Linked DNA regions of Homo sapiens: region 2 is linked to region 1. The links are contacts of gene promoters, found by promoter capture Hi-C in human tissues and cell types (Jung and others, 2019). All regions are on one chromosome and are shown on one strand. The core of a region is centred on a gene start or on the middle of the fragment in contact, and the rest is flanking DNA. Distances in the headings are between cores, read along the strand shown. Region 1 holds the start of SGCG (sarcoglycan gamma). Region 2 has its middle 130 kb from the start of LINC00621.

Region 1 (3,518 bases), core at 420-2,919:
ACATAGGTGTGGATAGTATTAAATGAATCTGTAAATATGAGTGGGGATCAAACACATCACCTGACTAACATTTTTACAAAGCAGTTCCCAAAACACTGAAAAGTTCATTGCAACAAAACCAATTTACGATTGATGAAGAGGTATCTCAATTGTAACCTTTACATGCATGACATTTCAATCAGAATATTGAGTTAGCAGTTTCAGACTTTGACTTTTCAGACATACACTCATACAAAAATACATTTCATATCATTATTGTTTAATATATTATTTTTGTTTAAAATTGATAGTTGTCCTATAATTTTATGTCTAGCTGAATTCCCAAAGTAGAAGTACTAATGTGCAGAGAATTCATGAAAGGTTTTAAAATGTCTTACAAATGTAAGATTATTTGAAGCTGTATCAGCTTGTAATTTAAGGCCTGCAGCTGCTGGTATGATAGAAGTATCAAATTTCAAAAGAAATTATGGTAGAGTATAAATAAGCAGAATGAAGAGAAAAGTCTCCTGAGAAGAAAATAAAATGAGAATGAAGCATATGCATTGTTATTGCATTGCTCCTTTTTTTCTTCATTTTTTATTTCAGGTTCGAGGGGTACATGTGCAGGTTTGTTACACAGATAAATTGCATATCACCAGGATTTGATGTACAAATAATTTCATCGCCCAGGTAGTAAGCCCAGTACCCGATAGACAGTTTTCCGAACCCCACCTTTCTCCCTCCCTCCTTCCTCAAGCAGGCCCCAGTATCTGATTGTTCCCATCTCTGTGTGCATGTATACTAAGGCACTGCTTCTTATATTCAAGGTTTAGTACTAAAATGCAAATATGAAGTATATAATTTAGTAAGTTTTAATCCTGCTGCAAACCAGGTCACATAAAAATAATGCAAAATAAAATATTAAAATTATTCAGAAGTTCGATATTTATTCTGTTGTCTTTACACCTTATAAAATGGAATGACCTAATTACTCTTAAATAAACATAAAGACAATTTAAGGTCACATTTGTTACATTCACATAATTTGTTAAACACAATAGAAATGTTAGTTTACTAGAAAAGAACTGTCATAATTTTAACATGCAGAGTTTGTTTACCTTCTATTATGGTGATCTTTGTTTAAGATTTTCTCCTCAGATGTTAAAAGTTTTTCACTTAAAGAGGCTTAGGGAAAGTGATTTTTAAAGAGTCACTGTTACATGGTAATATGCCGTTCATTTGGATGAGACTAGTATATAGGTAATAGTCACAAGTTCTAACTTGCATGTTAATTTGAAGAGATTTTTCGTAAAATTTTATCAACATTAGTTTCTAATGGAAACCAGTCTTAGAAGTTTTCTGCTGTTTGTTTGAGGTAAAGTTTTTTTAAGAAAGTTATAATTACATTAAACTATCATGCTTTAGGGTTTAAATGTTGGAAAGTTGGTTTTGTAAGAAGAAGAGTTTGGTTTCTTGTTTGTTTGTTTGTTTTGGTTTGTTTTTGGCATGCGAAGAGCTGTGTCCTGGAATTGGTGCCCAAAAAATTTTAAGTGTGGTATGAACTGTTTATGTCACTGAGTAAAATTAGACACGTCTGTTGCTAATGTGAGGGGATGAAACATGAGACAGGGCGAAACTCGTGAGAGCCCTTTCTCCAGGGACAGTTGCTGAAGCTTCATCCTTTGCTCTCATTCTGTAAGTCATAGAAAAGTTTGAAACATTCTGTCTGTGGTAGAGCTCGGGCCAGCTGTAGTTCATTCGCCAGTGTGCTTTTCTTAATATCTAAGGTAAGTGCTCAGTTTTAACTTAGATTTTATATCAGTACAAAGTACTACCTAAAAACCAAACGCTTAAGAGGTTTCTTAATATTCTTTCTTCTTTGGTGGCATAATAATAAATTTAAAATAATGTTGAATAAATTGGTGTATCACAACATAATGACATATCAAGTATCAATGAAATTCTCATTTCAACTAAGTTATTCTGACTACAAATATGCTACATATTTTTAGCATAATCCTATATTTCTAACATTTTTAATTTGTAGAATGCCAAAGGTAGCATTTCTGTATTATTGGGCATTGAATTGGATCCTGTAGTTAATTTAAACAAAGTATTATCTTTAAGATCACCTACTTCTAATTCTGCTCTTAAACTTTAGTGGTAGAATTACATTTGCTTTAGATTTTCTTGATAGTTTTGTTATAGACACTAAGAAATAAACTAAAATGAATGACAACAAAAGTCCAGTGGTTTTATAAGTTGGAAATAAACAAAACAAGAGCAAAATAGCAACCTGACTCCTTCACTATTTTTGGAGTGAAAAGGGAAGAATGTTTCTTTCCCTAAATCTGGAAAATATAAAATACTGCTCAAAATATGTATGAAAAAATAAACATAAGTGGGGTAAAAGTACACATGTGCTAATGCTTCAGCTTACTGAAGTTATGAGTTCTTTCTTTGCGTTTTCTAAATTAATACATGACAACTAGCAAACACAATTTTTTTAAAGGAAGGATTAGAAAAAAATAATACGGAAAAATATAACTCAGCTGACTGAAAGATTTGCCAGCAGACCAGTACAAAAACGAACTACGGAATACACCGTTTGTTTTTTGCTTATTTTCTTGCAAACATTTTGTAGGTACAAAAAGGCACCTTTGTGGAATTTAAAAAGTAATGCTACAAGTTGGGGTTCGTTTTATAGGTTCTAGGATTCATTTCAGATTGTCTTTCAAAGACAAATGAAAAGTAGCATTTCAATGTAGTTAGATATAGCATTCCAAAGACTAACAAATTCAGGTGTCCAAAAGATATCAGCTAAGCTTGCAGTTAAAATGCGGAAAATGAAATTGTTCCATATTGTCCTTTAAAAAATGTACTTGCTAGTCATTAAACTAAGTTGTTATTAAATTGCATTAAAAATTAAATGATAGTTGTAAATTATAGTGGGTTCCCAATGTGTTCAGTTTTGCATAACTTATAGGGCCTGAGGATCTCCCTCCACTCCCTAATCTGTGGCTCATCACAGCGCTTGTGTCTTCTCAGCTTGAGGCACCAGGGCTGTGGTTTCCCAGTGGGAGGGGAGAAACTACAGCGTCCTGAGGATGACTCTGCTACTCTCCTGCTCCTTCAGAACCCACCTTGACCTTCATGACACCTTCCTGTCTCTCCCTCCCTCCCTCCCCTTCTCTCAGCCTCTATAGCACCTGTCTGGCTTTATTCTTCTCCAGACCTACTGCAGGGCCAGATAGTTCTACGACGTTCTCATGAGGATTGCAGGATCCATCACTTGCTACTTTGGCCATTTTGGATTCCAGCTTCATTTTTAATTTTATATGTTATGCTGTAGATAGTTTTATGGGAACACTGGTACAGGAGTATTTAGTAATTTGTGAATGGTAAAGGTCTCAAGACTTTTCTCAGAACCTGTGAAAATCTCACTGCCTGCTCGACTTCAGTATGACTGGTGGGTAGGACCACTGAGGAATGGGGACAGGAGGGCTTGCTGTGCCCAAAGGCGTTTGTGCTTCATCCTA
Region 2 (3,518 bases), core at 392-2,891, 400 kb before region 1:
GGGTTCATGTCCTATACACTTGTAAAAACTCATAGAATGTACAACACAAAGTATGAACCCTGATGTAAACTTCGGACTATAAAATAATGTATCAACATTATCTTATCAATTGTATCAAAAGGACCACACTAATTAAAATAATAATGAGGAAATTGTGTGTGTGTGTGTGTGTGTGTGTGTGTGTGTATGTGAGAGAGAGAGAGAAAGAGAAAGAGGTGGGGAAAGGGGGGTGTATAATAACTCTCTATACTTTCTACTTAATTTTCTGTAAACCTAAAACTGATTTTAAAAAATAAACTCTATTTTAAAAAAATTCAAATAAATGATTTGAATAGACCTTTCTGAATTTCTGAAAGAAAGATAAACAGCCAATATGGATATGAAGAAAAGCTCAACATCTAACATCTTTAGACATTAGGGAAATGTAAATCAAAATCAAATGAGATACGACTTTCATACCCAATAAAATGACTATAATAAAAAAGACAATGACAAGTAATGATGGGATGTGGAGAAATAACTGAAATCCTCATATGTTGCCAGTGAGAATATAAGATGATGCAGTCATTTTGGAAATAGTTTGGTAGTTTATCAAACTGTGAAATATGTAATTACCATATGACTCAGCAATTCTTAGGCACATACCCAAAACAAACGAAAACATTTCCACATGAAAATGTATACACACTCGGCTGGGCGTGGTGGCTCACGCCTGCAATCCCAGCACTTTGGGAGGCCGAAGCGGGTGAATCACGAGGTCAGGAGATCGAGACCATCCTGGCTAACATGGTGAAACTCTGTCTCTACTAAAAAAATACAAACAAATTAGCCGGATGTGGTGATGGGCGCCTGTAGTCCCAGCTACTCGGGAGGCTGAGGCAGGAGAATGGCGTGAATCCGGGAGGCGGAGCTTGCAGTGAGCAGAGATCACTCTAGTGTGCACTCCAACCTGAGCGACAAAGCGAGACTCTGTCTCAAAAAAAGAAAAGAAAAGAAAAGAAAATGTATACACACTCAGCTGCATTATTCATATTGGCCCCAAAGTGGAAATAATCCAATTATTCATCAACTGATGAATGGATACACAAATGTGGCAGATCCATTCAATGGAATATATTCGGCCATGAGCAATGAAGTAGTACTAACATATGGCACGACATGGATGAACCTTGAAAACTTTATTAGACTAGGTGAGAAAAGCCAGACACAAAGACCATAGAGTATATAATTCCATTTACTTAAAATGTCCAACATAGGGAGATCCATAGACATAGAGAGTAGATTAGTGGTTGCCTAGGGCTGGACTGAGAGATAAGGTGTGGAGTAATTGCTAATGAGTACATAGACACAGGGTTGCTTTTTGAGGGGTCATGAAATATTCTAAAATTACGCTATAGAGATAGATGTACAACTCTGAATATACTAAAACCCACTGAATTATACACTGAATTAAAACTTTAAAAAGTCGTTTGCATTTATTTAGTGCATTACATATTAGATTTTGCACTCTTATTTATGTTTTTCCATTTGAGCCTCTCAATAAAATTTGATATTAATTTTTTTTTTTTTTTTGAGACGGAGTCTCCCTCTGTCGCCCAGGCTGGGGTGCAGTAACACCATCTCCGCTCAATGCAAGCTCCACCTCCAGGGTTCATGCCATTCTCCTGCCTCAGCCTCCTGAGTAGCTGGGACTACAGGTGCCCACCACCACGCCCGCTAATTTTTTTTTAGTAGAGATCGGGTTTCACCGTGTTAGCCAGGATGGTCTCGATCTCTTGACCTTGTGATCTGCCCGCCTCGGCCTCCCAAAGTGCTGGGATTACAAGCGTGAGCCACAGCGCCCGGCCTACACGTGGCTTATTCTTGTCCTAACCGTTGGCTCCAATTGGCGGCCAAGCTAGAGTGCAAATATATGAACCTTTTCCCCTACTCTGAGTTCTCATGTTCTCCCCTTGGGGTCCCTGCACAGTACAGAAACAGACTGTGGCATGGGGATTCTTAGAGATTCTGTTCAATTTGTCCAAATACTTTAGTTACAGTTGTATGGACTATATGATGGTTCAATCATGTTGCAATAAGTTTTGACACAGTATGATGCTTATTGGATTTGGAGGGAACATGTTGATAACCCACTTTGCTCTTATTTGCAAGGACTTAGGAAGGTATTCATGTAGGTCAGTGATCTCAATACTTCAAGAAACCCTGGGGAACCACAGAGGCATATCCTGAGATTATTACAAAATGTTGCCCTTTCTGAGCCATCATTTTAATTTTCACTTTTAGTCTTGACAAAGTGTATAGACTCAGGAGCCAGGGAGATCGAGGTCAGAATGATAAGTCATTAATAGCTTGGCAATCTTACATATGAATTAAAGCTTCTAAAGTACAATGTTCTTTTTTTTTTTTTTTTTTTTTTTGAGACAGAGTCTTACTCTGTCACCCAGGCTAGAGTGCAGTGGTGTGATCTCCGCTCACTGCAAGCTCCGCCTCCCAGGTTCACGTCATTCTCCTGCCTCAGCCTCCTGAGTAGCTGGGACTACAGATGCCCACCACCAAGCCTGGCTAATCTTTTGTATTTTCAGTAGAGACAGGGTTTCACCATGTTAGCCGGGATTATCTCCATCTCCTGATCTCCTGACCTTGTCATCCGCCTGCCTCAGCCTCCCAAAGTGCTGGGATTACAAGTGTGAGCCACCGAGCCCGGCCCTACAATTTTCTTACAACAAAAATGGGATGATAAAAATTTTACCTTTTAACAAAAACACCTAGGACACACAATGCAGAAAAAACAGTCTCTTTGATAAATGGTGTTGGAAAAACTGGATGTCCATATGCAGAAGAATGAAATTAAATCCTTATTCCATACCATATACAAGTATCAACTCAAAATGGCTTAAATACTGAAATGTAAGGCCCCAAACTATGATGCTACTAGAAAAAAATAGGGGAAAAGCTCCATGGAGTTGCTCTGGGCAATAACTTATGGATATGACCCCAAAAGTGCAGGCAGCAAAAGCAAAAATAAACAAATAGCATTACATCAAAATGAAGAACTGCACAGCAAAAAAAAAAAAAGAAAACCAAGAGAGTGAAGAGAAAATGTAGAGAGTGGGAGAAAATATTTGCAAACTGTGTATCTAATAAGTGGTTGATATGCAAAATATATAAGGAACTCAATCAACTCAACAGTAAGAAGACAAATGACCTGATTAAAAAACAGGCAAAGTACAATTAGTAGATGCCAATGAAAAATAAAAGCAAAAATATGGGCAAAGGACCTAAACAGACATTTCATAAAAGAAGACATACAAATGGCCAACAGGCATATGAAACTATATTCAACATCACTAATGAGGAAAATGCAAATCAAAACCTCAGTGAGGTGTCACCTTACACCTGTTAGAATCGCTATTGCCAAAAAGACAAAAAATAGCAAGTGTTGGCAAGGATGTGCAGGAGAGGGAACTTTTGCACACAGTCGGTGGAAATCTAAATTAATACAGCCATTACGGAAAACA

Evidence for each region. The method cuts DNA at HindIII sites, captures the fragments that hold promoters and counts their contacts. A contact is called where the count stands out against the background at its distance.
Region 2: a fragment that was not itself captured here is called in contact with the fragment with the promoter of SGCG in region 1 in 1 of the 25 tissues and cell types used here (mesendoderm cells).

What each region holds. Positions count from the first base shown.
Region 1 is chr13:23,179,310-23,182,827 of GRCh38, forward strand. SGCG (sarcoglycan gamma) reads left to right here and starts at 1,670. Exons shown (of 8, transcript NM_000231.3): 1 at 1,670-1,766. The HindIII fragment of the contact is 3,028 bases long and covers 1-2,228 here.
Region 2 is chr13:22,780,867-22,784,384 of GRCh38, forward strand. No RefSeq gene overlaps it. Among named protein-coding and RNA genes, the nearest start is that of LINC00621, 130 kb to the right of the region's middle. The HindIII fragment of the contact is 5,837 bases long and covers 1-3,518 here.